Linked DNA regions of Homo sapiens: all the other regions are linked to region 2. Evidence: promoter capture Hi-C in 16 types of primary human blood cells and fetal thymus (Javierre and others, 2016). All regions are on one chromosome and are shown on one strand. The core of a region is centred on a gene start or on the middle of the fragment in contact, and the rest is flanking DNA. Distances in the headings are between cores, read along the strand shown. Region 1 overlaps BNC1-AS1 (BNC1 antisense RNA 1). Region 2 holds the start of C15orf40 (chromosome 15 open reading frame 40). Region 3 has its middle 8.1 kb from the start of SNHG21. Region 4 holds the start of AP3B2 (adaptor related protein complex 3 subunit beta 2). Region 5 overlaps AP3B2 (adaptor related protein complex 3 subunit beta 2). Region 6 overlaps BNC1 (basonuclin zinc finger protein 1).

Region 1 (3,651 bases), core at 998-3,497, 300 kb after region 2:
GCCCGGTGACCCGCCTGCCTTAAGGTAGAGACGCTCTGGAATCTGTCACAAAGGACAGAGCTGAAAGCTCATTCCTCGCAGAATGAACTCGTTTCCTGGCATTCCACACAATTGGGAGTGCATGCACTTTTAAAATGTTTAAATGTAAAGCTGAGCTGGGATCAAATACACACATTTAAAGCAAAACAAACAAAAAAGATCCCCTCCCCCACCTCAAAGTAGGACCCATATTATAGATGTCACCAGCAATAAAAAGTAATTTTTAAAAAGCTCCTCAGTTTTCTTGAAGCTTGAGGGTTTAGAAAGAAGAGCCAGATTTATAAGGAGAAACCTACCACTTAATTATTTAGAACTTTCCAACGCAACAGCAGAATATAACTTAAGCAAAAGTCCTTTATTACAATCCTATAATAATATGTATGGGAGATGGAAATCGCTTTTCTTAAGAATAAGCATTCCCAAACACTCCATTCTTCTTAGAGTGTGCAAATGTGAAAGTGATAGCAGTGGCATATTTAGCATACTTCACAAGAGTCTTCCTCAAGCCATACATAGTGGGAGAGAAATTTCAAATAAAAGAGTTTGAGTAACTAATAAGGAATTTTTTGGACTTGGAAGCACCAGTAAGACTATGGTTTATTCCTCCCTTCAGCAGGCACTGAGGGCCTATTAAGGGGATTGAGGATGGATGAAGGTCACCTAAACGTTGAAAGCCATGGCCATGGTTCTCTAGCTCAAAAGACACATGAATAGTGTCTTGTAAGGCTGAAGAAAAACAGTCACGACTTAAATCTACCTGTGCCCTCCAAGATGTCCTTTTGATAGGGTATGTGACCTTGGGCAAGTCACTTCATCAGCTGGTCTTGTTTCTTCACCTATAAAATGAAGATAGTAAAACGCTGGTGCCTTCAGGGTATTCCTGGCACTAATGAAGGCTCATAAAGTGCTTTGAGATCCTTAGGATGAAAGTCTCTTCAGAACAGTAAAGCTTGATTATTATGCTGCAAACATGACATTCCCATGAAAGTCCTGGTCAGGCTCTTACCCCACCTCTCAGGGAAGATTTAATAGTGGAGAATTGTAATATGTTCTTAAAGGATTGAGATCTCCATTACTGATACAAAATATGCCACAGTAAACTAGTATATTAAGGGCTATTATCATGAATAATTTAAAGCCAAGTTGTACTTACAGATTAATCAACCAAGTATATATTATGATGCAGTAGATTTTCATTGTGGCTTCCCCCAACAGACTAATGTGACAAAAAATTATTATTCTCAGTGGATCCTCCAGTTTGCATAGATTAGCAGGTTGACTTCACATAATGGGTCATCACAGTAAACTTCTGAGGGATACCTTTATATCTACTCTAAGAAATAAACCCAATTAGAGGTCTCTTCTTAGTACAGAAGAAGAGGTTCATTAATGATAATGAGAGACTGGGTTACACTAGGCCCTAAGTTTGTAATTAATCTTGTACAGACCTTCCCGCTTGAAAATATTGAAGAATATCAAAGTCATGTACATCACTCCAGGCTAAAACACATGCACGTGAAAAGGGGAGAGCAGGCTCATGCACAGATGTCTTGGCTGATCTTGGACAATGCTACTTCTGATGATGCATTGGAAGGTGTAACCATAATTAGATCAAGTGAAAGCCTTGTGTGAGCTCATTTAGATAATTCACTAAGTCTGAATATTAAAAATCCACAATTTCTGTATTCCATAGCATTAAAAAAGATGTCCACAGTAAGGTACAAAGGATGGATTTTAAAAGACATGCTAAGAGGAATTACAGACACTAATGTGTTAGTGGAATGACAGATTATGGTCGTCTCAAGAAAATTTTAAAGAAATATCCAGGCCGGGCACGGTGGCTCACGCCTGTAATCCCAGCACTTTGGGAGGCCGAGGCAGGCAGGTCACGAGGTCAGGAGATCGAGGCCATCCTGGCTAACACGGTAAAACCTGTCTCTACTAAAAATACAAACAAAAAAAAAAAATTTAGCTGGGTGTGGTGGCAGGCGCCTGTAGTCCCAGCAACTCAGGAGGCTGAGGCAGGAGAATGGCGTGAACCCGGGACATGGAGCTTGCAGTGAGCCGAGATAGCACCACTGCACTCCAGCCTGGGTGACAGAGCGAGACTCCATCTCAAAAGAAAAAAAAAAAAAAAAAGAAATATCCAAAGTATTAGTGTTACATTGTGTGTTCCTTTTCTGAGATTTCCATCTCTTCCTATGATTTTTTTAAAAAATAATGCTGCCATTGGCACCAGCTAATATAAGATAATTGGCAATGCCACTGTACTCTTGACTGTAGTGGGAGAGAAAAATAGATTACTTTCTGCTAGAGATAAGGGACACTTTCAGATTTCTGGAATGCTATTTGAAAGGAGAAAGGTGCTCAGTAAAAGACTAGGGATGTTGCCACAATAGTGAGTTCTATCTCTGCAGCTGGGAAACTCATCTACAACAGACCTGACGGTCCAAATACTGAAAAAATAATTAAGGCCATTCGGAACCATTAAGTTTATAGATAAGCAGGATAAACTGACCTTCAAGGGAATCTGCAATTCTTTTCCTGACTCCAAGCCAAGTTTTCCTAACATGCCGTGCGTTGGTGTACCTCCGTGCCTTTGCTCAGCAAGTACCTTCACCCACCTAGCCACTTCTCTGCCTGAGAAACTCCTACTCATCCTTCAAGATGTAGGTCTAAATATCTCTTGCTGTGTGGAGACTTCTTTGGTGTTGCAGAGGTAGAGATAGATGCTTGATGCTCTCATAACACTCAGTTTCCTTCCTTCCTTCCTTCCTTCCTTCCTTCCTTCCTTCCTTCCTTCCTTCCTTCCTTCTTTCCTTCCTTCCTACCTTCCTTCTTTCCTGAGATGGAGTTTCGCTCTTGTTGCCTAGGCTGGAGTGCAATGGCACGATCTTGGCTCACCGCAACTTCTGCCTCCTGGGTTCAAGCGATTCTCCTGCCTCAGCCTCCCCAGTAGCTGGGATTACAGGCATGCGCCACCGCACCCGGCTAATTTTTTTGTATTTTTAGTAGAATCGAGGTTTTTCCATGATGGTCAGGCTGGTCTGGAACTCCTGACCTCAGGTGATCCGCCCACCTCAGCCTCCCAAAGTGCTGGGATTACAGGCGTGAGCCACTGCGTCTGGTCAGTTTCCATCTTTTTCTATGATGCATTACATCCTATTGCAAAGTTTTCAGTGTCTGTTTCCCCTTCGATGCTTGAGCCTTGAGGCACTGGGACCACATCTTATCACTTTAGTTATAAAAGACATGATAAAACTGCCTGGTGCCTAATACAAGTCCAATGACTCTAAATTCAAGTATTTACTGTCCAATGTGACACAGGAACTGAACAATCAGAGCACATGCTGGCTGTAAACAATTGTCGGGGCTGTTCTGGGATGTAGCTCTCCACAGGCATCATAACAGCCACCAAATGTTTATTGAAATAAAATCAACCATAGCCTGACTTACTGAGTGTACAGTAAAGCTTTTATAGCCCCAGAGCTAAGTGTCACCATTTTCCCATCTATAAAATGGGAGAGTAATACCTTCTTCATGATGTTGTTATAAATCTAATATGAATCAAATGAAAAGGCACCTCATGCCTAATACAAGATGATTGACTCT
Region 2 (3,827 bases), core at 325-2,824:
TCACTTTAAGACACCTTTACATTAGAATCTAGAATTTTAAAATGGAGAAGCCTCTAACTGCAGATGTGAAAAATCAACTGTCATAGAATAAGCTTTCAGCTAACCAAAGCAAAGGAGGGCTGTAGGAGACACCTGATTCACACTTGAATCCCACCCCAGTGTCCAGGTATACCTGTTACAGCATTTTGTTTGGAGCCAGGTTTTGCATGGATGGCTATGGTGACGCATCCTTTAGGATCAACTGCCACAGGACCTAAGGGAGGAAGTGGTCTCTCTGGTTCCTTGCTCTGGCTTTTACCCTAAAATGACAACCACACAACTTTACAGGTTACAAAATATTTTCCCACACATTTAATTTGATTCTTCCACTACCCCCTTTCACCCTTAACAGACAAACTAGGCTCATCAGTGGTGTCCAGGGACTTCTGGCCACCTAGAAAGCTTTTCCCACAACCTTCAAGGCTCTACTCAATTTTCCCACGAAGGGTTCCCATCAACCCAACAGTGTTTTTTCCCCCCTTGCAAGAAAACCTAACTCTGGCTTCTAAACCTTAATGCTTGCTCCTCCCTCTGCTTTGTATTTCCAATTCCTTGGGGGCAGGGATCATTTATTATTCATCATTGTATCTCATGCAGTCGGAGCTAATAAATGTTGGTGAAAGTGTGTATGTCTGCATGTTGCGGGAAAGGGAGGAAAAAAAAATAGTGCTTGATATTTAAAGGCCTGTTATGGGACAGGGGCTGTGCTAGGAACTTTCGTTCAACAAATATGTAGGCAATGGATATGTAAAGATGAAAAGGTACATGGTCCTTGCTCTCAAGGAGCTCGGACTGCTGCGAGGGAGAAAGAACATACAAAATTATAATACACTGTGCTAAGTGCACCGATGAGATAGGCACAGAACATTACCCCACAGGCAAATCAGCATTGGGGCACTGGAGAATGCTGCCAGCAGGAGGCAGTGCTTGAGCTGAGTCTGAGAAACGGACTGGGGTTGGCCAAACAAAGATGGTGGAAATGGGAGTGCTGTATTCTTGACAGAAGGGGTGCGATCAGCCAAAGCAAGGGAGGAGAAAGCAGAATACAGCCTCCTGGGGAAACGCAGGTCATGCCGCTGCGGGAACATGAATTGCTGGACTGGGAGTGCGGGTAGGAGGCCAAAGGTCAGCACACGCAGCCCAAGGAGAGCTCGGCTGCCGCCGGGCCCAGCGCTCAGAAATCACCAGGTGGACGGCAGCGCAGCCTACTGAGGCGGGGCGACGGCAGCAGGCCGCAGCTCTGGGGGTGGCGGCGGCTGTCCTGAGCCCCGGAACTGAGAGACGGCAAGCCGCTGGCAGTGCCTCCACTCACTCCCGGGCCCCGCTTCTCCCGCGCTCTTCAACAAGTACCCCTGAGGCCCACCCCTCTGCCGCCACGGGACCTGCTACTGGCCTTGGTCGTCGCACCAGCCTTCTTAGGCATCTCGGCGCAAAGAAGCCGAGCGGAGCCCCGAGTATTGGGTGTTGCCCGAAGGTGCCTCAGCCCGCTGCGGAGCCGCAGCATCCCCGCCTGGGAAGGCGCCGGAAGAGCCCTCTGCGCTTGCGCAGGTAGCCGGCAGGAGCGGCCCCACCGCCCGGCGCATCCGCTCTGGCCAGAGGGCGACACCTTAAGGCCGGCGGGAGCGAGTCTCGTGGCCGCAGAACATGCGCGAGTCTCTTTTGTTCTGGAACGGGCCGAGCCCCAGGAAGTGGAGCTGCGGAGCTGAGGCCTCACCGTGTCTTGGCCCACCCTGCTCAGCTGATAGGAAGGTGTGTCACCTCTTTCCTAATCGGGGAAAGAAAGGTATTGTCACTTCTCAGAATTGGAGAGCGCGGCAAGGAGTGCACAGGGCCAGGTGTCTTCTCGCTCCCACAGCCAAGCAGCAGATGCAGAGTCCCACGCGCTGCCTGTGGCCATCAAGTCGATATAGAGCCTCGTGGCGGCTTGGCCCTTGTGAATCTTCCACGTATCGATGGCGCACCTACCTTGTGCCAGGCGCAGCGGATCCCACAATGTAAAAGAAGAGGAAATACACTGCGACATGTGATATGGAGAGACATGAAACAAATCAGCAGAGGCAAGATCATGGAGTCACTGAAGGCTTTCAAGCAAGGGATTATTAGCAGCCCAATTTGCTGGGTTTTAGAAAGACACCGGCTGCACTGTGGCCGACAGAGGAAAAGCCAGAGACAGGGAGATCCGCCCCCTAAATGGGAGAGGGTGGCCTGAACTAGAGTAACCGCAGGGAGGGTGGAGCGCTGATCATTTCAAGGATCTTCAGGAACTGAAATGATCAGAACTTGGGAATGACTGCATGTGCGAATAAGGGGGAAAAGTCAAGGAAATGCCCAGGTTTGGGGCCCAAGGAACAGGTTTGGGAGGCCGAGGTGAGGAGTTCAGCTTTGGACATAATGAGTTTGAGATGCCCACAGGACATCCAAATACAAATGTTAAAGGGGTAACTGAATATATGTGACTGGAGTTTGCGAAATCAAGGCTGGTGATAGAGATTCTGGAATCTTCTGAAAGCAGATGGCAATTGAAGCTATGGAAATGGATGAGAGAGTGTGTAAAGAGCACGAGGGCCCAGGTTAGAACAGCAAGGGCAGGTAGAGAAGTCACCAAAGGACACTGACCAGGTAGGAGTACGGTGTAACGGCAGCTAAAGAAGGGCGCTTCAAGAGGGAACATCAACAGTGATGAACACTCTGGAGAGAACATGTCACATGTAACGACTGAGAAGTGGCCACAAGATTTAGAAATCAGGGTGGTGGTGGTGACCCGGGCTACAGCAGTTTTAGTGGAGAGAAGGAAATGGAGATAATTGTAGAGAATAATCCAGTGACTTCACTGTGAAGGAGCAATTGGTATCTGGAGGGGCACATGACATTCAGAGACTTATTTTTATCATATTTGAAGATTGGTAGGAAAGAGCCAGGAGAAGAGAGGTTACAGCAGAGGACGGTTCCTGAAGAGGTAGGATCTGAGCTCAAGTAGAGATTGAGTTCTCTACAGGAGGCCTTAGACACTCCTTCCTTCCTAAGGGAAAGCTTAGGTGGACATGTAGCTGTGTTTGTAGGTTTGGTGATGGGAGGTGGAATTTCTTTCATTAACTAAGGCGGGGGAGGTGTTGAAGGTATATTGGGACTCTTGAGAATGGCAAAGGGCTGACTATTGCAACTCACCCAGCGGTAGACAGTTAAGGGAGACCGTGAAATCATCTATGATCCCAATCTATAGTTACCTTATTTTATTTTTGTTTATTTTTGAGACAGGGGGATGGGAAGAGCCTGTCGCCCAGGCTGGAGTGCAGTGGCGGGATCTCGGCTCACTGCAACCTCCGCCTCCTAGGTTCAAGCAATTCTCCCTGCCTCAGCCTCCAGAGTAGCTGGGACTACAGGCGCGCGCCACCACACCCATTTTTTGTATTTTTAGTAGAGACGGGCGTTTCGCCATTTCGCCCAGGCTGGTCTCGAACTCCTGAGCTCAGGCAATCCACCCACTTCGGCCTCCCAAAGTGCTAGGATTACAGGCGTGAGCTAGCGCCTGGCCTATAGTTACGTTACTTTAGATGCCTGGATTCACCAGCTAAGAAGTTTTTTTTTTAATTAAATTTTTTTTTGGCCCCAGTGCTACTACCAAAGCAGTCAGGAAGTTGAAGATAAGGCAGACAACTGGATTGATTCAGGTATATTTAAGTGGGTTGAGGGTTATTGATGAAATGGTTAAAGTTATTAAAGACCAAAGGTGGAGAGGGGTTGAGGGAGACCAAAAGTAGAGTCTAACTGGGTAAAGAAGGAAGTAAAGA
Region 3 (4,033 bases), core at 442-2,941, 270 kb before region 2:
ATCTCGGCTCACCGCAACCTCTGCCTCTTGGGTTCAAGCAATTCTCCTGCCTCAGCCTCCCGAGTAGCTGGGATTACAGGCATGCGTCACCACCCCTGGCTAATTTTGTATTTTTAATAGAGATGGCGTTTCTCCATGTTGGTCAGGCTGGTCTCGAACTCCTGACCTCTGGTGATCCACCTGCCTCGGCCTCCCAAAGTGCTGGGATTACAGGTGTAAGCCTCCGCGCCCAGCCTGCTTGCATCATTTTAAATGAATGTCTAGTATTCTACTGTATGAATAGACCATAATTTAATCAGTGAACTCTTTTCTTTTTTTTTTTTTTTTTTGAGACAGTCTCACTCTGACACCCAGGCTGGAGCGCAGTGGTGCGATCTAGGCTCACTGCAACCTCCACCTCCCGGGTTCAAGCATTCTCCCTGCCTCAGCCTCCCGAGTAGCTGGGATTACAGGCGCCCAACACCACACCTGGCTAATTTTTGTATTTTTAGTAGAGATGGGGTTTCACCATCTTGGCCAGGCTGGTCTTGAACTCCTGAGCTCAGGCAATCTGCCCTACCTCAGCCTCCCAAAGTGCTGGGATTACAGGCGTGAGCCACCACGCCTGGCTAATTTTTGTATTTTTAGTAGAGATGGGGTTTCACCATGTTGGCCAGGCTAGTCTTGAACTACTGAGCTCAGGCAATCTGCCCTACCTCGGCCTCCCAAAGTGCTGAGATTACAGGTGTGAGCCACAGCGCCCAACCAGTGAATGCTTGATGAGCTTGTTTTTGCCTTGTTAAAATTGAAAACATGATTTATCATCTCACCCTCCTAAGTTTCATTAAAATCATACTTAAGAAATAAAAAGAGACATAAAGATATAAATAAGAGAATGGGAAAAGAAACATAAAGATCTAAACAAGAGAATGGGGAAAAGATCATTAGTAGATCAGAGATTTCAAAGAAATTTTGGAAGATAGCTGATGAAGGAATGATACTGATGCGGGGGGGAAGCAGAAGAAACTGCAGAGGGTGGAAGATATACCCCAGGAAAAAAACAATTCACACTACGGAATGCTAGAAGGGTCCAGAACCAGGAAATATCAGAGACAACTGAGTACAGGAATGAGATATAAGGCCAAGATTCCACATATGAAACAGTTTTCCTTCCCTTCCACCTCTGCATGCAGAATGCCTTACAGCCAAGAATCTACCCCCAGGGTGAAGGTGTGATAGGAGGAACACAGACCATCCAGAATTTCCCATACATTCACACATCACGCTGAAACGTTATTCTGGAAATAAATCTAAGGGCTCCGTAGAAAATCCCCTGCATTCTACCCATTACAGTAAAATGTCAGCATTCCTGTCCCATCATCTTGGCCATCAGAAAAGTTCCACACAAGAGAGCTCGTAATCCACTTATTACTTCATTAAAAAATATAAACAGTCAAGACCCCCCCACTCCAGACATTTGAGGAATACTTCCAATGTGAAATAAAGATGGGTGAGATCACGCCACTGCACTCCACCCTGGGCAACAGAGCAACACTTTGTCTCAGAAAAAAAAAAAAGAAAGAAAAGCTTAACGAACTGACATAATTTTTCTTAAATCCAGAAGAAAAGTGAGGTCACAGGGCAAACCACTATCCCCAAAATTGGAGAGGCAGACAGGTATGTACAAAAGTCACAAGCTACCCAGAGCAGAAATCTCCACAAAGGAACCAATGCCAGGGCAGAAAAACATGAACTGTAATTGAATTGCCAGAGGCAAGTGTAGACAAGTCTGAGAGTCAAAAATTCCAGAAGAAACCAGAAACAGGGGAGGGAGAACCCAAGCTTCTGTGAGTTTTACCTCCAAGAGTTTGACCAGGTTCTCACAATAAATATTAGAGAAAAATCTTGTCATGCTTCTAGCAGGAGAAGAAGAAAAAGAACCATTTCGAAACATGCCAGAGCATGCTGTTCTTAACAAAGTCTGCCCTCGGGAGAAATATTTAATCAGAGCCTAAATGGCTGGAGTTTTATCAGAGCCTAACTGGCCTGGGAGAAGGGAAAAATGCCCAACGCCAGCCCACTCTGGCCATCTTGTCCCACCTAAGGGGGAAGAAAAAAACTGAGAAGCACTTGTAAAGTTCACATTCCAGAAGCACATGCTCACTAAAAGACTGAGACCTAATCATAGGGTTCATAGAGGAATACTTTCCCTCTCCCCACACCTTACCCCCACATTACTAAAGGCCTATTTGCAGCAGTTCCTTTTCCCTGGTACATCCTGTCCAGCTATGAAGAAAAAATTACAAGGCAAACTAAAAGGCAAAACACACATTTTGAAGAGACAGAGCAAGCATCAGAACCAGACATGGCAGGAATGTTGGAATTATTAGACAAGAAATTTTAAACAACTTTGATTAATATACTAACAGCTTTAATGGGTAAAGTAGACAGCATGCAAGAACAGATGGTCAGTGTAAACAGAGAGATGGAAATCCTAAGAAAGAACCAAAAAGACGCTGGGAGCAGTGGCTTACACCTATAATCCTAACACTTTGGGAGGCCGAAGTGGGGCAGATTGCCTGAGCTCAGGAGTTCGAGACCAGCCTGGGCAACATGGCGAAACCCTGTCTCTACTAAAAATACAAAAAAATTAGCAGGGGGTGGTGGTGCGTGCCTGTAGTCCCAGCTTCTTGTGAGGCTGAGGCACAAGAATCTCTTGAACCCAGACCCAGGAAACAGAGGTTGCAGTGAGCCGAGATCATGCCACTGCATTCCAGCCTGGGTAACAGTGAGGCTCTATCTCCAAAATAAATAAATAAACAAAATAAAATAAAAACAAAAAAGAACCAAAAAAAATGCAAGAGATAAAAAACACTGTGAATAGAAAATGAAGAATGTCTTTGATGGGCTAATAGACTGGACATGGTGAGGAAAGATATGATATATGATGATATATCAACAGAAACCTTTTTTTTCTTTTTTTTTTTTTTTTTTGAGATGGAGTCTCACTTCATTGCCTGGGCTGGAGTGAAGTGGCGTGATCTCAGCTCACTGCAACCTCCACCTCCCAGGTTCAAGCAATTCTCCTGCTTCAGCTTCCCAAGTAGCTGGGACTACAGGCGCATGATGCCACGCCCGGCTAATTTTTTGTATTTTTAGTAGAGATGGGGTTTCACCATGTTGCCCAGGCTGGGACTACAGGCATACACCACCACACCCGGTTAATTTTTTGTATTTTAGTAGAGACGGGATTTCACCGTGTTGCCCAGGCTGGTCTTGAACTCCTGAGCTCAGGCAATCCACCTGCCTTGGCCTCTCAAAGTGTTGGGATTACAGGTATAAACCACCATGTCCAGCCAATAGGAAGCTTTCAAACTGGCAATAAAAGAGAACAAAGACAAAAAAAAAACAAACAAACAGAAGAGACTATCCAAAAACTATGGAACAACTACAGAAGATATAACATATGCATATTATGAATACCAGAAGGAGAGAAAAGAAAGGAATAGAATAAATTATTCATATTGTTTGAAAGAATAATGACTTGAGAGTTTCTCCAAATTAATGTCAGACACCAAACTACAGATCCAGGAAGCTCAGAGAACACTAAGCAGATAAATATAAAAAACAAAAACAGAAAACTGCAACCAGGCATATAATTTTCAAACTACAGAAAATCAAAGATAAAGAAAAAAATCCCGAAAGAAACTAGAGGGGGCCAGGTGCAGTAGCTCACACCTGTAATCTTAGCACTTTGGGAGGCCAAGGCGGGTGGATCATCTGAGGTCAGGAGTTCAAGACCAGCCTGGCCAACATGTTGAAACCCCGTCTCTATTAAAAATACAAAAAATGAGCCAGGCATGGTGGCAGGCACCTGTAATCCAAACTACCTAGGAGGCTGAGGCAGGAGAATCGCTTGAACCTGGGAGGTGGAGGTTGCAGTGAGCCAAGACTGCGCCACCGCCCTCTAGCCTGGGCGACAGAGTAAGACTCCATCTCAAAAAAAAAAAAAAAAAAAAAAAAGGCCGGGCACAGTGGCTCACACCTGTAATCC
Region 4 (4,081 bases), core at 1,521-4,020, 300 kb before region 2:
CTCTATATAGTCCAATAACAGACCAGCCTTTACTGGTCAAATCACCCAAGCAGTTTCTCAGGCTCCTGGTATTCAGTGAAACCTTCATACCCCTTACCATCCTCAATCTTCAGAAAAGGTAGAACGGACTAATGGTCTTTTAAAAACACACCTCACCAAGCTCAGCCACCAACTTAAAAAGGACTGACAATACTTTTACCACTTGCCCTTCTCAGAATTTGGGCCTGTCCTCGGAATGCTGCAGGGTACAGCCCATTCAAGCTCCTGTATAGATGCTCCTTTTTATTAGGCCCCAGTCTCATTCCAGACACCAGACCAACTTGGACTGTGCCCCAGAAAACTTGTCATCCCTACTATCTTCTGACTAGTCATACTCCTATTCACCATACTCAACTACTCATACATGCCCTGCTCTTGTTTACACTGCCGGTTTACACTGTTTCTCCAAACCATTACAGCTGATATCTCCTGGTGCTATCCCCAAACTGCCAGTCTTAACTCCCTCTTAAAGTAAATAAATAATCTTTGCTGGCAGGGCTATGCTGAACCTCCTTGGGCACTCTCTAATTGGATGTCCTGGGTCCTCCCAATTCTTAGTCCTTTAATACCTGTTTTTCTCCTTCTCTTATTCCATTTAGTTTTTCAATTCATACAAAACCGTATCCAGGCCATCACCAATAATCCTATACAACAAATGTTTCTTCTAACAACCCCACAATATCATCCCTTACCACAGAATCTGCCTTCAGCTTAATCTCTCCCACTCTAGGTTCCCACGCCACCCCAATCCCGCTCGAAGCAGCCCTTCAAGGCTATGGAGAAGCAGTATCTCTCCATACCACCCCCCGCCAAAATGTTTGCTGCCCCAACACTTCAACACTATTTTATGTTATTTTTCTTATTAATAAAAGAAGACAGGAATGTCAGGCCTCTGAGCCCAAGCTAAGCCATGATATCCCCTGTGACCTGCACGTATACATCCAGATGGCCTGAAGTAACTGAAGAGTGAAAATGGCCTGTGCCTGCCTTAACTGATGACATTATCTTGTGAAATTCCTTCTCCTGGCTCATCCTGGCTCAAAAGCTCCCCCACTGAGCACCTTGTGTCCCCCCACCGCCAGAGAACAACCCCCTTTGACTGTAATTTTCCACTACCTACCCAAATCCTGTAAAACGGTCCCACCCCATTTCCCTTCGCTGACTCTTTTTTCGGACTCAGCTGGCCTGCACCCAAGTGATTAAAAAGCTTTATTGTTCAAAGCCTGTTTGGTGGTCTCTTCACATGGACGTGCGTGAAAATCCTCATCTTCTCCCCCTGTCCCTCTAAACCCCCACCCAATATCCAATTAATCATCAGGTCTGAGGCTTCCACCTCTTCCACAGCCTCAAATCTTCTGCCTCTCCCCTGGTCTAGGCCACAATCATGCCAGGCCTGTGAACTTCAAGACCCACCTCCCTTGTCTCTTGTTCAATCTGGCCCACCTCCAATCTCTTCTCCACAATGCAGCAGCCTGACGTCCTTCTAAAATATAAATCTGATTATGTCGCCTGCTTAGAATCCTTCAGGAGTCCTCCCCACCCTCTTTTCTGGTCAGTCCAGTGGCTCACACAGATTGTGGCCTGGCTCTCAACCTTCCTGAAAGCCCTTTCCTCTGCCTGGAACATACCTCACGCTCCTGTCTTCCTTCTCTCCGGCGCCAGAGACTAGGTCCTCTCCCTGCTCCCACTGCCCCCATTACACTCGACTGTCCCTGACTGCTTCTTCATCTGTGCTCCCCTCTAGAGCATCGTGAGGACAAGAAGGGTCTCATGTTCACAGTTGTATTCCGTGACTAGTTCAGGACTCGACACAGTTGGCTTTTCATAAATGCTTGTTGCAGAATTTACGAATAAACAAATGAAGAAACAAACGAACGAATCAAAGGTGGGGGAGGGTGTGAAGGTGGAGCTGAACTACAGGGGCAATGCCAGGAGCAGGGATGTGAGGGTCAGATGGAGATGGGGACCAGAGGGAGGGGAAATGAATTTGCAGCAGGGCCAAGCTGGGAGGCTGTGCAAGTACATCCAGGGCCCGCCTTCCTGAAGAGGCCCCAGGCTCAAGCTCAAGTTCGCTGACTCAGACCCCTCCCCCACATTTTTGGGAAGCCAACCCGCCTAGCACGAAAAAGGAAGGGAACCCCTAACGCAACGCCGCAAACCGGAGAAACACCTGGAACCGGAGGGTTTCTCCTCTCGAAACTGAGCTGGCCCATCCCCCGCCAGCCCCTATCTGCCCCCCTCCGCGTCCTAGGCCGGCCCCTGGAGCCGGGGTGCCAGCGCTGCCCGCGCTGGGCCGGGGCTCCAGGCCGCAGGAGGGGGCCGGGCGGGCTTCCGGTCGGCGCGGCCGGGGCGGGGCCGGCGCTGGGGCCGGGCGCTGTCCATGGTGCCCGCGCGCCTCGCCCGGTCCCCGGCCCCAACCCTCCCGCGAGCTTCCTGGCGGGCTCCCTCACCGCTTGTAGTCGGAGGAGAAGATGCCGCCGCTCGCGGGGTCGTGGCCGTACTCGGGCTCCCCGGGGCCAGCGGAGCCGCCCTTGTCTTCGCTGTAGGCGGGGGCGGCCGACATGGGGCGGCCAGGGAGACTTCGCCGAGGAGGAGGTTGCGGGGCCGGAGGCCGGCTGGAGCGGAGGAAGGGAAGGCGGGCCGGTCCGGTCCGGGCTGGCGAAGGCGGCGGCGCGGCAGGGGTTCAGCAGAGGCTGCAGTGTGCAGCGGCGGAGGCTGCGCGCGGATTTCTCAATCAGGGCCGCGCGCTGAGGTCTTAAAGGCACCGGCGCCAGCCGAGCGGAGGGCGTGTCCGCGAGGAGGCGACAGGGGCGGTGCGTCAGGGCCTGGCCCCGCCCATCCCTAGGAAATGCCCTCTTCAGGGCGTCTTCTGCCCTTTAAAGCGACTTGGCTCGTCTCCAGATCTAAAGGTGGGCGAGTCTGCTGGACGGACGCTGGGACCGTCTTGCAGGGGATGTGGAATAGCTGCCCCCACCCCCGACCACCTGGCCTCGGCGGGACGGGCCTCTGGGGCTCCGCTCTCCCCAGACGCACGCGCGGATGCTCACCCACGCCGTGGAGGGAAAGCGGGAACTGGAAAGAAGGCTGTGCCCGCAGGCTGGGGGTTCTAGAGCGGGAAGGGGTCACCGCACCCGAGGACCGGCCTCAGATACCTAAGGACGCTCCCTTTCCCGCCCCACCTTTCCTACAAAATCTGGCTTGGCAGCAGGAAGCCGAGGAGCTTCCTGGAGGTGGCGGAATTTAAGGAATTAAGGTCAGGGAGCTCCGAGGAGCCCTTGGGGGCTTAGAGAGATGGGAAACAGGATACAGAGGACGGTGAACATCTAATTAAGCTTTGGAAAGTAGTTTAATGAATCTTTCTGAAGCCTCCACGTCCACCCAGGAGGGCCAAGGTCATGCTTAATCCGGGGACACGTCCACGTCCATTGACACCTGAAAAGGAAGAGAAGGGTCTGGTGTGACCACCAGGGCTCCTGAGTCATGTGAGCCCTCCAGTTCAGCTCCCGAGCCCGAGTGACCCCTAGGCCCAAGGAAGGAAGGCTTGGATCCGATGGAAAGTAGTGAATTGGGCTGGGGGAAGAGGTAGGATCCAGTTGGGCATCAGTTGAGGTGGCTGGAGTCTTTTAGCTGGGCATGGGGACTGGAGGAGTTCCTAAGGCCTGAGTCTTGGTCTGTAACTAGCATCCCGAAGTCTCCATGGGCAGAATTGGCGGGCCTACCTGGGAAGGAGTGGGGCCCAGAAAGGTGGAGCTTGGCTCAGTAGAAAAGTTCTATTGGGGGTAATTCTACTGGGGTAAGGTTCTATTGGGGTAATGAGAAGGTTCTGTTGGGATAACCTAGACAAGTGGGTGGGTCCGCTTGGTTCCGGTGGCTTTGTGCCTGCCAGAGAAAAGTGGATCTTGAATTTGGAGAAAACTGGCCTGGGTGGGGAGTGGGAAGAGAAGGGCCTGGATTTTGCAGTTGCGCGTTTATAAGGCGCTTTGGCTAGTCTGCTCAGGAGGTGGGATGGGTCCTGTGCAGGTAGCTGGGCCACGCTCACCGA
Region 5 (3,674 bases), core at 347-2,846, 320 kb before region 2:
TCATTTCCTTCCTCACCCCAAGCTTGAGTGTGGTCCTGGGGGAGGTGGGGACAAGCAATCCCTCACCAGGTAGTGCTCACCTCTATGTTCTTACAGGCCACGTTCTTCACCACCGCGGGAAACAGGTCTGAAGCATTCTTTCCTCGGGCAATCATCTGGGTGGTGGGGTCAAGGTAGGGGAAGAGGGACAAAGCGAGAGGCACAGCACTAACTAGAGGGAAGGTCTACAAGGAGCTAAGGAGAGCTGCTCTTGGCCACCCAGGCCCCGCCCGGAGGGAGGCCTCCTCCTTCCCCTCTTACCGCCACAATCCTCTTCATGGCCTCCAGCTTGAGAGAATCCTTGTTGGTGTCCAGCATCTCCTTCAGGTCATCATGCCTGGTGGGAGGTACAAGAAGTCAGCTGAGGGCACAAGGGTGGGGATGGGGTATTAATCAGGAGGGTCCAGGCACAAAGAAGGGACATGGCCAGGGGAGGCTCAGGCAGGACCTGACCCGAGGAGGGACCAGAGCCAGGGGGAACAAGTAAAGTACAGATCAGGGGAAACATGTGGCCAGCTAATATTGTGGGTTGAACTGTGTCCTTCCTAAAAAGGATATATTTAAGTCTTAACCCCTAGTACCTCAGAATGTAACCTTATTTGGAAATAGAGTTGTTGCAGATGTAATTAGTTAAATGCAATCCTACTCTAATAGAGTGGGTCTCTAATCCCATGTCTGGTTTCCCATAAGAAGACAGCCATGTGGGCTGGGTGTGGCGGCTCACGCCTGTAATCCCAGCACTTTGGGAAGCTGAGACGGGAGGATCACTTGAGCCCTGGAGTTCGAGACCAGCCTGGCAACATGGTGAAACAATGTGTCTACAAAAAATAGATTAAATTGAAATTAAAAAAACACAAAAAACAAAAGACAGCCACTTAAAGAGACAGACACAGGGAGACTACCATGTGAAGGCAGACGATTGGAAAGATGCGTCTACAAGCCAGGGAATGCCAGAGACTGCCAGCAAACAACCAGAAGCTAGAAGGGGCAAAGAAGGATTTCCCTATGGGTTTCAGAGGGAGCATGGTCCTGCCGACACCTTGAGTTCAGACTTTTGGCCTCCAGAGCTGTGAGACAATTCATTTCTGCTGTTCCAACCAACCCAATTGTTGTACTTTTTTTTTTCAATTACTAAACTTTTTTTTTTTAATTATACTTTTAAGTTCTAGGGTACATGTGCACAACGTGCAGCTTTGTTACATATGTATACATGTGCCATGTTGGTGTGCTGCACCCATTAATTCGTCATTTACATTAGGTATTCCTCCTAATGCTATCCCTCCCTCCTCCCCCAACGCCACAACAGGCCCCAGTGTGTGATGTTCCCCACCCCGTGTTCAAGTGTTCTCATTGTTCAATTCCCACCTATGAGTGAGAACCTGCAGTGTTTGGTTTTCTGTCCTTGCAGTAGTTTGCTCAGAATGATGGTTTCCAGCTTCATCCATGTCCCTACAAAGGACACGAACTCATCCTTTTTTATGGTTGCATAGTATTCCATGGTGTATATGTGCCACATTTTCTTCTTCTTTTTTTTTTTTTTTTTTTTTTTTTTTGTGAGATGGAGTCTCGCTCTGTCGCCCAGGCTGGAGTGCAGTGGCGCAATCTCGGCTCACTGCAAGCTCCACCTCCTGGGTTCATGCCATTCTCCTGCCTCAGCCTACCGAGTAGCTGGGACTACAGGTACCCGCCACCACCACGCCCAGCTAATTGTTTGTATTTTTAGTAGAGACGGGGTTTCACCGTGTTAGCCAGGATGGTCTCGATCTCCTGACCTCGTGATCTACCCGTCTTGGCCTCCCAAAGTGCTGGGATTACAGGCATGAGCCACGCTGGGATTACAGGCATGAGCCACCGCACCCAGCCATGCCACATGTTCTTAATCCAGTCTATCACTGATGGACATTTGGGTTGGTTCCAAGTCTTTGCTATTGTGAACAGTGCTGCAATAAACATACGTGTGCATGTGTCTTTATAGTAGAATGATTTACAATCCTTTGGGTATATACCCAATAACGGGATCACTGGGTCAAATGGTATTTCTAGTTCTAGATCCTTGAGGAATCGCCACACTGTCTTCCACAATGGGTGAACTAGTTTACACTCCCACCAACAGTGTAAAAATGTTTCTATTTCTCCACATCCTCTCCAGCACCTGTTGTTTCCTGACTTTTAATGATTGCCATTCTAACTGGTGTGAGATGGTACCTCATTGTGGTTTTGATTTGCATTTCTCTGATGGCCAGTGATGATGAGCATTTTTCTTAAACGTTTAAAACATATTTTTAAGCAGAATGGGCCAACTCAGTCACAGTAACTGTTGATCTCCATAGCAGAGCAACCCACAAAGACGGAACTGATTTTTTACCCATATTCAGGAGTGAAAAATATACAACTTGTTTCTGAACCAAAACCACAATTTCTGCAGTTTAAAATGTTTCACTGCTAATATGGCCCTGGTAGAAAGTATGTAGTTTTTTTTTCTTCTTTAAAAAAAAAAAATTAAAATAATTTCCTAAGACGCTAAATCCTCAATCTGGAATGCAGATTCTGAGCACAAAGCAGCTCAGTTAACCTAAAAAATAAAGAAAAAATTCCCATCACCTGTCTCAGTAGGGCCTGAAAGGAGAGAAGTGGTGTGGGGAACCCCGGCTTTAGTATGGAGAGTCACGGCCCCTTGACCCAAACCGAGACTGTGAGTAGCCATAGCTGGTGCTTCTCTCAGGATAAACTCAGATGTAGGAAGTTTCACTATCATGAGAGTGGAATTTAGTGTCATCCAATTTATGCAGGGCATATTCCATGTCTTCTTTTCTGAGATACTCAACCATCCCCACACCGTCCTTCTGCACATCGGCATAACAGACATCCCCAACTTCTCGCATGTGATCCTTCAGGTCCTGCCAGCTGCCTGAGGAAGTCCTGAAACAAGAACTCGGAAATCAGATCTTCTTGCAGAAGGCCCATTCCTCCCACCACGGGGCCACCCACCCCGACTTCGTAAGTCCTGGAGAACTCCACACGAAGCCGACACTGGCCATAATCATAACTATTTCTTCCATAAATAGCATCCTCTGCATCTCGGGGGTCCTCAAAGCGCACCAAGGCGAAGGGCACAAGGCAGTGCCCATTCTTAAGCTTGATCTTGCGGATCCGGCCGTACTTGTAGAAAAGGTCTTCCACGTCCTTCTCGCGCACGTTGGAAGGCTCACCACGCAGATGCGCTCATCCGCCCAGCCCAACATCGGCACCTCCCAACGCCCCCTCCCCGCAATCCCCCCGCAGCGTCCCCGCGGGCTCTGAGGCGCTCAGCCGCACTGCACTGTGGGAACGAGAAGCAATTGTGGTACTTTTGATACAGGAGTGTAGGAAATGAATGTAGCCAGAAACAGAGAGCCAGGAAACAAGAGGAAGGGTTTGGGGTGGGAAAGTATGGACCTGGCTCAGGGAAAAGGACTAGTTGGATGGATAAGAAGGACCAGCGGAAAAGAGGTAGATGCCAAAACAAGAGCAGGGTGCCCTTGCCCTGCCTCCAGTATGTTTCCAAGTCCTGACCTCTCAGACCAAACTGATTCCAGGGACTGGAAGGGTCCCAGAGACTCCATAGATGGCCTCACAACAAAAGCCAGACCTGTCAC
Region 6 (3,741 bases), core at 80-2,579, 270 kb after region 2:
GTAATATAAAGTTTGTCAGGTAATCAAGGAAATTTGAACACCAATTAGAAATTTAATGACATTACAGTTATTGTTAATTTTTTAGGTGCTCTATGGTATATTGCCCTGGTTTTTTAAAAAAGAGCCTTTGTATTTTAGAGCTTCATATTATAATATATATGAATGAAATTATATAATGCCTAGGATTTGCTTTAAAGTAATCTAGTGTTGGTTATGATGGGTAGGAAATACAGATGAAATGAGACTGGCCCAAAGTTGGTAACTGTTGAATCCCCAAGCACATATTACATCAAGTTTCATTCTAATTTTGATTGTTTGAAATCTTCTATAATAAAAAGTGAAAAAAATAAGTCAAACTCCTACTCTCCCCCAAATTAAATAGTTTGAGTGGGATAGGAGAAATGGAGAAGTCAAGGTTGTACAGAGAGGCCAGAGAGGGCTTCCTCCAGGAAGAAGGCATGCTCTCATCAGTGCATGCAAGAAATACCACAAGCCTAGGTACAATGTAAAGCTTAACATGTACATATGTGTCAGGCCAAGGAGCCTGGGCCACAGAGCACAGGTCTCTGTTACGGGCAGTGAGACCTACCTTGAAAGACAAAATAAGGTGGGCCTGGGCTGTCCAGATGAGCAGCCAGGAGTCTCTTTATTGGGTTCATAGGATCATTGGCTTTCTACAATGGGGAGGCACTGTTTACCACAAGCATGGTTAAAAGGAGATGTGGGGAGCCTCAGAAACCAGGTAGTCAGCATTTGCAATATAAACACAACACTAAAGGAGAATGGACAAAATCTGGTTTCTCACTCCAAGTATGAGGATGAAATGAGAGACCAAAGACTGAGGGCATGGAGAAGGGTCTGGCAGAGAAAGGGCAGGTGGGAGGTAGAGCTCCTTCAAGTGACAGATATTGATTGGGCTGAGTCTACCTGTGAGTTTAAAGTATGCATGACACATTTGTAGTGTTCTCTAGCTGCTTAGTTCAAAGACTGTGATGGGGAAAATACTTGTTCTTTTGATGTCTATGAATCAAAGTATAAACTGTGTGCCAAAATAATTTAATGTCTGTGCTTTTTTTCTTAAAATTATTAGTTTCAAAAACTGAAAATCTATGAAATAGCTGAAAAACATGCAAACACTACCTTAAAAGCCAAGCCAAATATTTCTTCTTTAAAAAAATTTAAGAACTGTACAGAAATGTAAATTATATGGATATATTTTTTCCTTTATAACCTAATTTGGGAAACCTCAGAGGTAATCTTTAGAAACCTTTGATAACAAAAAACCAAAAGATATTAATTGCATGTAAAGGGAACTTTCCGAACATAGTTGAATCAGCCTGAGGAAAAAAATACAGAGCAAAACACTTACACTTTAGCATAATTTTACCTAAGTTACATAAGCAATGCAACTTCACTACTGCTGCTGATACAAAATAAAGACGAAATTGTGAACATTTCTAAGTAAGATTTTGTAAAACATTCTTTTGGGGACTCATTGAGAACTAGGTTTTTGAAACTAAGTTTTTAAAAAGAAAAGATCAAACTTAGTTAATTATGCCATCCTGATCCCTTGCTTCAAATTCAGTGTGAAGTATCATGAAATGCTAAGAGTTGACAGTATAAAAATTTTACCTTCATAATGAATAATGCAAGAAACAATTAGAGGACTACAGAAAAAGGACAACACTTCCGGAAGCTGATGTACAACTAGAAAAGAAATTTGAGGTTTGAGTATTTGGTAGGATCACACAAATAATCTGTAGGAGACCATCAAACTAATCTAACTATATGAAAAAATGTTAGAACCCTGAATTAAGAGTTTACCTGAGGCAACTATTTCCCTATGGACAGGGCTGTTTGGACCTGACCCTCACATTTTATTTCTCCATCTCTCTTTTGTTTCACATTAGTTGAATGAAATTATCATTTCCCCAAGGCAGAGTCCTCCTGTGATTTGTTAGGCTGGTTTATAATAATGAGTCCATGTGTAGACGGCAAGAGTGACAGTCTGTTTGCCGATAACTAACTATGTGAGGTTTGAGAAGGCCCAAAATTGGACCCTGGAGAAACAAGTCTGTTCTCTGTTTATACCCACCCTCTTCGGCTGAAATAGGCATGTGTCCGTGCAGAGAAATGGTGCCACAGTGGAAGCTTGGAATTTCCAGAATTAGGAAAAGGACTTCAAAGAATGACAAGATATGCAGAAATAAGGTTTTCAGGTGGAAACCAGTTTAAAAGGAAAAAGAAATGCTTTCCAGATGCTTCTTTTGAGCAGAATCCAGTTATCTTTAACATCTCTCAGAGAAGTCATCAAAAATAAAGAAACAAAAACTCTGCAGTAGAACACTTGGAATTACGTAATTAAAAGAAAAGTACCAACTCCCTAAAATCTTGATTTTAGATACTAAAAAGATGGGTGGCTCATCATTGAGATTTTACCTTAGCTAAGGTATTTTCAGTTCCTTCTAAAAAGGACAGTTTCTGACAAAAGTAACCCACTCTAAATGACATCTGTAGAGGAGAAAATTCACCCTGGGGTGAAGCACACTCCTGTAAGTAATTTACCCTGTGGAACCTTCAGGGCATCCCTTTTAATGGCCACATCAAAATTACTTCTAAAGCCACATACAGAAGCTAAAAGACACTTCTGCCCCCCACTCCATAAGCTGCAGTTTAATTTTACTGACAAATTGAACTTTTAAAATGTTTCCCTGTTTATACTTATCCCTAGGCATTCATAAATGACAAATGTGTGCTTAGGGACAACTACTTTGTTCCACAGGGAAACCTGTATGGCTTTTCTCTCTCATCTATCGGGTTGGATCGTCTTTCCAATCTGATGATCTTGAGGTACAGAAAGTGGGCATGGGCCTGGGATGCAGGCCTAACTGCTACATGGGGGAGATGCAATAAAACATAAAATAGCCCTCCAGTAAATCTCATGCTTCCAAGGCAATTACTTCATGTTAGTCAATATTTCTAATGAGAATTATAACCACAGCAAACAGATCACTGTAGGTATCAATGGCCAAAGAACTTTAACCACTTTCTGAAGGAGGAGAATGTCCCTAAATCCTTACTAGTCTGAAGGGACACTATAGGTACAGATGATATTCAAATTAAATTATGCAGATGCCTGAACATAATTACGAGTTCCCAAAGTGTGAGCATCATGTGTGCTAGGTGAAGATTTCACCACCTCTTCTCAGCATTTAACTACAACAGGAACACGTTCAACCAACAGTTGACTTGAAATAGTAATAGTTTCTTGGTGAAATTAGTTAGCAAACTTATTAGATGAGAAATCAAACGATGACTCGTATCTTATTCGTTTTAACCATCTGAAAGTATGCCAAAAAGAATAAAGTTATTTCTTAAAATTCATCATCACAAAAGGAGAAGCCATCTTTTCACACCTCTTTAAAGAGCAAATCAAATCCAGTACAATTTGTAACATCTGAAGTAATGTTCTTTTATATGATGTACAAAATTTTATTTTGACAAACTATTTTAACAAGGTTTTAATATGTATCAACGAATCTGGGAAGGGATCAATGAAAAGAGAGTCAGTGTATCCATCACTGAACAAAAGTTTCAATACATTAACACGTATTTGCAAACTCAGGGTCGAAGACTTAGAATCTTATCAAGAGATCCCATAAAATCGAATAGCAAATTAAATAAACAGCGAATGAAAAAAAATCTGCCAAATGCTGTTTTTCAATTCACTTACTGTCAAGC

Evidence for each region. Contacts are between HindIII fragments. The CHiCAGO score rates a contact against its expected background, and 5 or more counts as called.
Region 1: a fragment that was not itself captured here is called in contact with the fragment with the promoter of C15orf40 in region 2 in 1 of 17 cell types (endothelial precursors); the score reaches 5.0 in endothelial precursors.
Region 3: a fragment that was not itself captured here is called in contact with the fragment with the promoter of C15orf40 in region 2 in 13 of 17 cell types (naive B cells, total B cells, activated CD4 T cells and 10 more); the score reaches 12.7 in naive B cells.
Region 4: the fragment with the promoter of AP3B2 here is called in contact with the fragment with the promoter of C15orf40 in region 2 in 11 of 17 cell types (naive CD4 T cells, monocytes, naive B cells and 8 more); the score reaches 8.0 in naive CD4 T cells.
Region 5: a fragment that was not itself captured here is called in contact with the fragment with the promoter of C15orf40 in region 2 in 7 of 17 cell types (naive CD4 T cells, non-activated CD4 T cells, total CD4 T cells and 4 more); the score reaches 7.9 in naive CD4 T cells.
Region 6: a fragment that was not itself captured here is called in contact with the fragment with the promoter of C15orf40 in region 2 in 1 of 17 cell types (endothelial precursors); the score reaches 5.2 in endothelial precursors.

The regions. Positions count from the first base shown.
Region 1 is chr15:83,306,230-83,309,880 of GRCh38, forward strand. The region is part of intron 2 of BNC1-AS1 (BNC1 antisense RNA 1); the gene reads left to right. Among named protein-coding and RNA genes, the nearest start is that of BNC1, 23 kb to the left of the region's middle. The HindIII fragment of the contact is 2,523 bases long and covers 987-3,509 here.
Region 2 is chr15:83,010,065-83,013,891 of GRCh38, forward strand. C15orf40 (chromosome 15 open reading frame 40) reads right to left here and starts at 1,575. Exons shown (of 4, transcript NM_144597.3): 1 at 1,433-1,575; 2 at 173-299. The coding sequence starts at 1,543. It overlaps LOC124903542 (a long non-coding RNA gene), which reads left to right and starts at 1,677. Exons shown (of 2, transcript XR_007064742.1): 1 at 1,677-2,995. RefSeq lists an enhancer at 1,753-1,812. The HindIII fragment of the contact is 2,628 bases long and covers 440-3,067 here.
Region 3 is chr15:82,740,483-82,744,515 of GRCh38, forward strand. No RefSeq gene overlaps it. Among named protein-coding and RNA genes, the nearest start is that of SNHG21, 8.1 kb to the right of the region's middle. The HindIII fragment of the contact is 255 bases long and covers 1,565-1,819 here.
Region 4 is chr15:82,707,105-82,711,185 of GRCh38, forward strand. It overlaps AP3B2 (adaptor related protein complex 3 subunit beta 2), which reads right to left and starts at 2,771. Exons shown (of 27, transcript NM_001278512.2): 1 at 2,490-2,771. The coding sequence starts at 2,602. It also overlaps the pseudogene LOC338963. RefSeq lists silencers at 2,295-2,554, 2,775-2,824. The HindIII fragment of the contact is 2,125 bases long and covers 1,245-3,369 here.
Region 5 is chr15:82,689,078-82,692,751 of GRCh38, forward strand. AP3B2 (adaptor related protein complex 3 subunit beta 2) reads right to left here. Exons shown (of 27, transcript NM_001278512.2): 2 at 301-376; 3 at 81-155. CPEB1-AS1 (CPEB1 antisense RNA 1) reads left to right here. Exons shown (of 4, transcript NR_046096.1): 4 at 2,934-3,674. It also overlaps the pseudogene LOC100421235. Among named protein-coding and RNA genes, the nearest start is that of AP3B2, 19 kb to the right of the region's middle. The HindIII fragment of the contact is 3,152 bases long and covers 21-3,172 here.
Region 6 is chr15:83,279,028-83,282,768 of GRCh38, forward strand. The region is part of intron 1 of BNC1 (basonuclin zinc finger protein 1); the gene reads right to left. Among named protein-coding and RNA genes, the nearest start is that of BNC1-AS1, 3.1 kb to the right of the region's middle. The HindIII fragment of the contact is 1,640 bases long and covers 510-2,149 here.